3 separate regions of the Homo sapiens genome follow, and regions 1 and 2 are each linked to region 3. Evidence: promoter capture Hi-C in 16 types of primary human blood cells and fetal thymus (Javierre and others, 2016). All regions are on one chromosome and are shown on one strand. The core of a region is centred on a gene start or on the middle of the fragment in contact, and the rest is flanking DNA. Distances in the headings are between cores, read along the strand shown.

The links. Contacts are between HindIII fragments. The CHiCAGO score rates a contact against its expected background, and 5 or more counts as called.
Region 1: a fragment that was not itself captured here is called in contact with the fragment with the promoter of SLC17A1 in region 3 in 1 of 17 cell types (M1 macrophages); the score reaches 5.8 in M1 macrophages.
Region 2: a fragment that was not itself captured here is called in contact with the fragment with the promoter of SLC17A1 in region 3 in 4 of 17 cell types (megakaryocytes, M1 macrophages, M2 macrophages and 1 more); the score reaches 7.5 in megakaryocytes.

Annotation. Positions count from the first base shown.
Region 1 is chr6:25,186,340-25,189,393 of GRCh38, reverse strand. No RefSeq gene overlaps it. Among named protein-coding and RNA genes, the nearest start is that of CARMIL1, 92 kb to the left of the region's middle. The HindIII fragment of the contact is 1,483 bases long and covers 668-2,150 here.
Region 2 is chr6:25,222,784-25,226,186 of GRCh38, reverse strand. No RefSeq gene overlaps it. Among named protein-coding and RNA genes, the nearest start is that of CARMIL1, 55 kb to the left of the region's middle. The HindIII fragment of the contact is 1,739 bases long and covers 984-2,722 here.
Region 3 is chr6:25,830,780-25,833,761 of GRCh38, reverse strand. SLC17A1 (solute carrier family 17 member 1) reads left to right here and starts at 1,710. Exons shown (of 13, transcript NM_005074.5): 1 at 1,710-1,768. The HindIII fragment of the contact is 946 bases long and covers 1,625-2,570 here.

The DNA of each region.
Region 1 (3,054 bases), core at 160-2,659, 640 kb after region 3:
CAAACCACATAGAAAGCATTCGTAGGGCAACTACTATGTTTGTAGTAAGGTGCTGTAGGGAAGATTATGGTCATAACAACCATTCCTTCAACAAATACTTAAAGTGTGCCTACTAGAAGCCAGCCATCATTGTAAGCACTGTGGATACAGAGGTAAATGTGGCAAAATTCCTTCTCATGTGGAGCTTATGATATACAATGGGACAGCACGGTGCAGTGGCTCATGCCTGTAATCCCAGTACTTTGGGAGGCTGAGGCGGGTGGATCACCTGAGGTTGGGAGTTCAAGATCAGCCTGGGCCAACATAGTGAAACCCCGTCTCTATTAAAAATGCAAAAATTAGCTGGGTGTGTTGGCGTACGTCTGTAATCCTGGTTACTTGGGAGACTGAGGCAAGAGAATCACTTGAACCTGGGAGGCAGAGGCTGCGTTGAGTCGAAGTCATGCCATTGCACTCCAGCCTGGGCAACAAGAGTGAGACTTTGTCTCAAAAAAAAAAAAAATACAGTGGGACAGAGAGATAATACACCCACCTACCACGCACACAATATAATGTCAGATACTGGTTTAAAAAAAAAAAACTGAAGAAAAAACAGAGTATATGGATATAGGGCTGTTATTATCACATACTTAAGCTTATCATGTAGCAAGTGCAGTACTTAGAAGCTTTATATCCATAACCTCATTTAAACCCCACAACCTACATAGAGTAGGAGTCATTATTTCTCTGTTGCAGATGTGGAAAAGAGGCTTTAAGAGGTGAAGTTCATATATCAAGTAAATGGAAGAGGTGTTGTATTTAAGAGCCTCTCCCCCTCTCTTCCCCCAATTCCCTCTAGGTCTCTCTCCTTTTCTCTCTCTCTCCCTCTTCTCCCTCTCAATTTCAAAACTTAAGGTATTATTCAGTATGATGGAGGCACAGTAGAAAGATGGAAGGTCATGTTAATACATAAAGAATGACCTCATTCTCAGTAACAATGGTCTTGTTATATAATCTGTCTGTCTCACTTTCCTCTTCTGCAGGATAATACCCACTACATAAAGTTTTAGGATGACATGAGAAAATATGTATAAATCAGAAGGAACATACCTCTTATCAAAAGTCCTCAGTACGTATTATATTGCTAAATATAATTGATGGGCATGTGGTGAAGAGACTGATAAATAATTGGGAGTTGGGGTACTTTCTAAGAGGTGCAGGTGGGACCTGATACACAAAGCATAAGTATATGGAGTAGATTGGGAGGGGCCTCAGTGTTTGGAGAAGGATTAGGAGGACATCAAAGCAAACCTTTGGTAGACTGTGTGAAGAAAGATAGCACCTTGATATTCAATAAAACTGTTTTCCAAAGTCAACAGCCATGAGTATTGTAGGTTGCTTTTTGGATCAATGAGAAGAATCTCAACTGTTGCTTCAATAGTGGTTCCTCAAATTGCCTGACAATCAAACTTATCTGGGAAACTTCTTACAAAGACACATTCAAAGTTCTGTGTCCTCCAAGGTGGAAATTTCCATGGTAGTATAAAAGGAACAAAACCATTTGTTCACTGCTATAACCCCAAAACCTAGAGCAGTACCTGGCATGTGTAGGATATTCAACTAGTGCTTGTTGACTGAATCTCCTTTATTTTTTCCTCCTTCCTATCTTCCTTTTGTTTTCCCCAAACACATAGGACATTCCCCTAACACATGTGAAATGCTCTGTGACTCTGTCCTGCATCTTCCCAGGGGTGGATTATGTGTGGAGAAAAATGTCACTTTGTCTTTGATGGGATTTAAGGGGGCATGGTCATGCCTGCTTGCTCCAAACTCTTCCTCACTCTGTTTGCTAGCATACCAGCAATGTCCACACGGCAGCTATTCCGTGTTGAGATCATGCATTTCCTGAAAACCCCTACTGCTACTACATAACGCATTGCACTGAGAAGGAGAGTGACTGGGTGAAATCACTTTAACTCTCAGCTTCTCACTCATTTGCGCTGGTTAGGCTATGAGAAGGCTTGCTGCCACTTTGAGTAGCAGAGGGGCCAGGTCCTGAAGGAATGAGACAGGGCAGTATTGATGGGAAAGAGCAGGAAGGAAAAGTCCCAGGGCTTAGGGGTGGCAAGCTAGGAGGAGTACCCAGAAAGATGGCTGGTGTGGAGGAAGCTTTTGGGGGATGGTGGCATTTGATGAGCATGGGAGGTGTTCCCACTTAAGAGAGACTTTTCCTGAGCAACACTTTGAGTCAGGTTGGTAGGGTGTTATTAATGGCTCCAAGTGCTTGGTACATAGTTGACTCACCTGCTGAAACACTTGCTGAGTTAGCGGTTCAATTTCACAGATGTTTTTAAGTCTTGGGTATGCAGAGACTGACCTCTGTGTGACTGTCACAGAGCCTGACATTCCCAGAAGACAGATTCACAAGTTTTCACCCTTTCTAGCACTATGTGAGCTCTGATGATTGTTTCCTCACGTTAATTTAGTGGTTCTTCCCCTGACCTTGGGCATTCTCCCACACACATGCACTGATCAGCACTTAGCTGAATGTTTGAGGGGGACCTTCTGTAGGTCTTCAAGTTTTCCCAGGGCAGCTCTCATGTCTTTGGTGCTCTGCCCTAGGCACTCTAGCCACCTTACTCTCCAGACTCTCAGCTGTCTCCTCAGTTCCAGGATACCTCCACAAAGGTGCCTCTTCCCTGCCCTGTGACCTGAAAAAACTTCCTCCAAATAGTATACTGGGGCAATCATTGGCTCACATCATTTATTTCCTGTTTCTTGGAGATCACCATTCTTCATTGTCTAATTTGTTCTAAGACTCGCTGTTTCACGTATTTGTCTTTTTGTTGTTGTTTCAGAGAGGAGGATAAATCTGGTCTTTCTTACTGCATTTTGGCCAGAAATGGAAATACATGAGTTATTCTTAATGCTTTTGTTTCCTACTCACTTTTGGTTTTAATTTACATTTCTCCAATGACTAATGATGTTGGATACTTTTTTATATGTGCCCACTGGCCATATGTATATCTTTTATGATGAAATGTCTATTCAAATCTTTGGCCTGTTTTTTAAAAA
Region 2 (3,403 bases), core at 604-3,103, 610 kb after region 3:
AGTTGAATTTATGTAGCACAGTGCTTCCCATAATTTTTTTCCTGTCAAGGAACTATTTTATGTTAAATTACACAAATATAGTTTTATTTTTATAACATTACTTCCTTCTATCTCTGAACACCTGCACCTTCTCTCACAATGTTAACCTCTCTCTTTGTATTGCAATTTGGCTTCTGTATCTACTCTGTTCTTTTTTCCCACCTTCCCCCGCCCCCTGAGACAAAGTCTCACTCTGTGGCCCAGGCTGGAGTGCAGTGGTGCAATCTTGGCTCACTGCAGCCCCGACCTCCCAAGCTCAAGTGATCCTCCCACCTCAGCCTTTGGGTTGCTGGGACCACAGATGCACACCACCATGCCTAGCTAATTTCTTGTATTTTTAGTGGAGACAAGATTTCGCTATTTTGCCCAGGCTGGTCTTGAACTCCTGGGCTCAAGCAATTCTTCTGCCTCAGCTCCCTAAAGTGCTAGGATTGCTGGTGTGAGCCACCATACCCAGCTTGTTTCTTTTATTCTCAGAATATTCTTAATATTCTCAAGAACATTCTTGGCCTCCCTTCCCTGCCATTTATAATGTTTCCTCCCTTGGTTTCTTTATTTTCCTTCATTCACACTCTGATTGCACCATTCAGTTTGACTCAATTGTAGTCAAATTCAACTCACAGGCTTGTTAACCCTAGTTTGGTGAACATCATAAGTCTTTCAGATGCTGGTTGGAAATGCACCTCCTCAATCCCTAACACTGACATTTAAGCAGCAGAAAGAAGAGGAGCAGCCCATGGTGAAGGCAACTGGAAAGGTCAGAGACCCAAGGAGAGATAAGATGAAAGTTATCAGTGGTGCCTAATGAAGAAGAACTGTTCTGTGAGACAAGGACTGAGAATGTTCCTCATGAGGACATCATTGATGACCTTGGTGAGAACAGTCAGCAGAAGTTTGAGAAATTATTGGGAGGTGCTGAAGCTGCCACAAGTACAGACCAAGCTTCTGAGAGAGTTGGATGATGACAGAAGGAGAAAGTGAAAAAGGGCTCAGGGTAGAGAGGCTTTTGTTTAGGATGGGAGAAGCTAGAGCAAGCCAATGTCAGCTGGGGCCTCCCTGGCTCTGTGAGATGTTGGTCCATCTTTGTAAACCTGGTCCAAAGCCACAGTCCAAGATTCCTTTTATGATTTCCCTAAATTTCTGAGGCTTGCTCCCTCATGCTTCTCTTTGTGTCCCCTGCCACATCTGTACCTGTGGTTTCAGATCCATCTTGTGGCACCACAGTGCGAATCTCAGCCTTCTCGCCAGTTTCTACACAAACACTCATGTTAATGGTAATCTATTGAGTTAACAATTTAACAAGGAACTTTAAGGTAGTTTGGAGGTGCTCCTGGAGAGGGGTTATACGCCCAACCACACTGCCCTCTGCCATCCTGCTGGCTCCTCCTCCGTTTTTCCCAACTTCCTCCTCCTTTAGAGCAAGGAATTACTTTTCTTGTCTAGAACTGAGTGATCAACCCAGAGTCAAGGTCTCGCCTTCAACCTCAATGGGCTTATCCATGAATTTTTCTAAGAAATCTCCAAAAGGAATTTTCATGCCATTTGCTAAGAGAATTCGATTCTCCTCTAATATGTCCTCTTGTCATATTAGCATTCGGGGGTGGGGGCGGGGCAAACAGTTTATGTAGACACAGAAATTGATGCATGTGGTGAAATGCTGGGAGACACCTGGAGGGGAGAGGAGGGCAGCTGTTCTATTTCTTGTGATTGGTGGGACAGGAAGCAAGAATGAGTGAAAATGAAGATAAACCTGTATGGGGGCAGGATGTGTATGGGGGTGGGATGGAAGAGTGAAGATTTGAGGGTTTGTGGGCTCAGTAGTCTCTGTGGGGGCAAGATCACTTGCTGACAGGGGATGGACAGAACTGAAGGTATGAGATTCTCGCTATAGAGAGGAGTGAGGGAAGGAGAAGGGATGAGGGGAGAGATGCTGTTTTTAGATAAGGAGAAGTATTGACAAGATGAATGGAGTATTCTTCTGAAATCGGAAAGTATACCTTTGTGAAGATACCAGTTCCCACGGTTGTACTTCTCTCTAGAAGCCCCAAATCACTAAGATATAGAAGCAGAGAAGGGGGATTTCAGGATTAATCTGGGGTTGGAGCTTGCAGAGCAGGACAGTGTGAGTTCTAGTGCTTTATTCTGAAGTCCTGGTGAAAAAGGGAAAATTGAGTAGGAAGAAGCCTGCCCATTAGCACTGGGTTGACATTCAGCTCCACTCTGGACCATGTTACCTTGGTGATAATGAAAGTGGAAGGAGGGATGCTTTTCTGCCAATTTTATCTAAGCGTCTTGGGCAGTTTTAATTTAAACGTATGATACTACCTCCATTTTTTCCTGGTATGATTCCTTTCATTTAATTAGGCTCTATTGGTGGAAAGTAGTTGATCTTTGATGACGTTGTTATCTCCTGAACATTATTATATCTCCCGCTCTGGTTTACAGGTTTTTCCTGACTCTTCTCTTCTGCATTACAGCTCAGGACTGCCACCCAGTGGCCTGTTAGCATAGAGCTCTGGAAATGCTGATTTTTTTCTTTAATACAGCCACAGAATAAGACAATAAGAAAATATTTGCTTCCTTGTTGGGGAAAGTAAAATGCAGAACTTCCTATTTACCAGCCAAACAAAAGAAGAATGCATTCTCTCAGGACCTCAGGGACTGTCAGAAAATAAGAAAAGCTTTTTTGACCTTAGTAACCTTTGACATGGTTCTCTGAGACCAAGTGTGTTTAGCCAGGAATTTATACTAAACAGGGAATGGAATGAAAGCAGGATCAGGATTTTGAAGAAAAATACCTCTCAAATTGGGGAGAGTTAGGCAAAGAGATTCTGAATGTAAAGTCATTTGGGGAAGACATAGGCCCTTGGATAAAGCATACTTTTTTTGTTTTCCTATTTTACTTTCTTCCTCACCCTTTAACACATGGAAGATGGGTCCCTGTGTCCTCCAGGTCTGATAGGAGTTGTCAGACTGCCGTTGTTTGAGTTACTTTATTTATTTGGAATTTCTGGATGTGAGAAGCTATGGAAGCCAAGTTCAGATTCAGCCATTCTAATTCTCTTATAAGATATCCTCTGTGAAACAGTGGTGTACATTTCAGTTTTGTTTTTGTAAAAATTGAGTATCAAAATTTTAAAATCCTACATGTTTTATTATCAAAAGATCACTTACAGGCATAAACTCTAGTATAATTTTTAATTTTTTGAATTGTAGATTGTCTTTTTCTTTTTTATCATAGACACTCTGAAAGCTAATTGGGATGACAGAGAAGAAAAAGAGAAAAGAAAGAATCTCGAATAAGAGGCCCAGTGGCCTCACTAGAAGGATGAGAAGATAAGACTTGCTCTAGAGGAGGAAAAAT
Region 3 (2,982 bases), core at 461-2,960:
AATGCTACAAAAAACAACCATTGAATGTTGTTGATAACATTCAAAAGGCCAAATGAAAACTCAAATGGCCAAATATTGATAATTATTGAAGTGGGTGAATATGTACACAGTTATCTTAAACTGATCTACTTTTTTGTATGCTTAAACATTTCCATAATAAAATGATAAATTTAAAAATTTAATACATAAAACACAGAATCCAAAAGAAACAATTTCAAAGAATCTCACAGAGCAGCAGAAAGCTTTGGGGCCAGCAAACAGAAAGATGGTTCTCCTTCAGGTAATCAGTATCCAGAACTGGGATACTGATGGCAGATGGGAGTGTTATTATTTAACACATGGACTTTGAACAACTGCTGACCTAGGGGTTTCAATCACTAAAAGGGCTCCTCTTTCAGAAAATGCCAGAAATTGCCCAGCATGAAACAGGACAGTACAAACATTCTGCAACACACAGAAGAGGACCAGCAGAATCTGGACTTTTGAAAAAGAAAAAATCTAACTGAATAACAACATCAAAGTCTCCTGGGCAAAGGGGTTAAAGATTTACAACATTTCTTTAGAGGAAAAAAATAACTGGTTGAATTTACAGAGCATCTGCTATGTGCCAAACATTTAATGAGCACTTTAAAAGCATGATAAAAATTAAAAAAAAACTTGTTAAGCATGAAATAAATTACCTATAATGCAAAATCACTGATTTTAGTGCTTGGATATTTTTAAGTAATTAGTAGATTACCTTCAAAGAGTTCTAAGTTAAAAGTATTAGGGGCCAGGCACGACGGCTCACGCCTGTCATTCCAACACTTGGGAGGCCAAGGCACAAGGATTGCTTGTGGCAGGAAGTTTGATATCAACCTGGGCAACACAGCAAGACCCTGTCTCTACCAATTAGCTGGGTACAGTGTTGCATACCTGTAATCCCAGCTACTTGGGGCTGAAGTGGAAGGATCCCTTGAGCTCAGGAGTTCAAGTCTGCACTGAGCTATAATTGCACCATAGCACTCCAGCCTGGGTGACAGTGTGAGATCCTGTCTCTCTATGTTTTTTTTTTAATGTTTCTGGATATTGCTATAACCAAGTGGATGAACCAGAACCTACAGTAATTGCAGGAAGAGCCATGAGAGAAGCCACACCTTCCAGAGGACATGCCTCAATAAAATGTACCTCTTTCTGAGTATGCTGAATGTCAAACAGATGTACTGTTTAGAGAGGAGTGTGGAGGAGACAGGGTGAGGGAAGGAGGGAAAGCAAGGAAGGAGGGAGAAGGAAGAAGGGAAAGAGAAGGAAGAAAGAAAGAAAAAAGGAAGAAAAGGAGGAAGAAAGGAAGGAAGGGAATTAAGAGTAAAAATTTAATATGGCATTTATGGGGCATTTAGAAAGCCACAACATTCCTGTGAGAACAGCATTGTATACTCAGAGCCATCCTTAATAGAGAAATCTTGAGAGCACTTATGGCAGGCAAGCTCTACCTCCTGGGCAGGGAGAGAGACTAAGGGTGTCTGCTTATTATGCCATGAAATTACTGGCAGATTCCCAGTTTCTGGTCCACTGGATGATTTTGACCCACACACCTTCCCTGAAGCTTTAAGGAAAAGGTAACAGTAAAGTTAAAAATTAAGCTTTTAACTTCGACACAGTGATGTCAAAAGATTTGGTGAATGATTTATGGGGCTAAACTTGGTAATCCTAGAAAGTCAATATTGTGTAAAGTTGAGAGAAAAGTCTTCACAGCGGAAGAAGAAATCACTTTTTTGTCCCGAATCAGGTTAGTCTACGGGGCTCATTAAATGAAATGAGCAATCAGTTGATTCCCCAGAGGGCCGTAAGGGGGCATTCCCTGGCAAAGATATTATTGAAAGTACTTAGCAATAGGGGAAAATGTGGGGAGGGGTGGAATATGCCCTATCTTCTGAGGCTTTTCACAAGAGAAAAAAGAACATATTTTTAGCAATCAGTGTGAGGTTCACAGGGACACAAGGAAAGAGAAGTATGTGTTGTACAGTGTGTGATGCTTGTATAGCTGTGGTGTGCTGTGTCTGTAATGTGTGTGGCACACTGTGTACGCCTGGTGCATCTGTGCCCATCATTTATGTGTGTGTGTGGTTATGTGTGTGGTGTTTGTAGTTTGTACTTCCGTTTTGAGGATGCAGTATTGTAACGTATTTATATGTTTGGTTTGCTATGTGTCTGGAGTGTATGTGTGGAGAACATAAGGGGAGTTTGTACCATGTGTTTATGTTGTATGTATGTATGTGGTGCATACGTATGGGTGGTTTGTGTGTGCATTTGGTGTGTATGTATATATGTATTGAAATAAACAGCAGCCCCAGAAGAGGTTCCAATGTGTGATAATGATGGTTGACAAATTGCTTATTCAAAAATATTTTGCAAATCCAATCTCAGGACTTTGGTATCTTTGGGGCACTAGGTATCATATAATCTGATATGGTAAAATCCTGAGGTCTAACCTGACCAGCACATATTGGTGCTGAATTCTGATGGTAAGGGGTTGCCTGATAGGAGACTGCTCCATTCTGATTCTCCACTGAGCTTCCTGCCATAAAGCTTTGCATCAGTGGCTGCTCTATCCACGGAAACTGAAGATACGGACAGGGGCATGTGGACGTGTAACGAATGATTAGCCTCTGCTTGAGTTGATCTTATCAATAAGCAGATAGTATCTTCCAGCTCTATTAAGATACAGGGGGAAAAAAGGAATTTGTTTTACCTTTGCTTACTCCTTTTCTGACATTCTTCCTTTCTTTTCATACTGCCGAGTTTCTGACCTATAGCAATCTCCTTCTGCCTGAAAGGCTTCTTTTAGTGTTCCTTACAGGGCAGGTCTACTGGCAATGAATTCTTTCCATTTCTCACTTTGGAGGAATATTATCACGGATTTAGAATTCTGGATTGGCAGGGTTATTTGTTTGTTCTCTGTAGTTTTCAGGTCTTCCATATATTTTTAATCAACCAAAACAA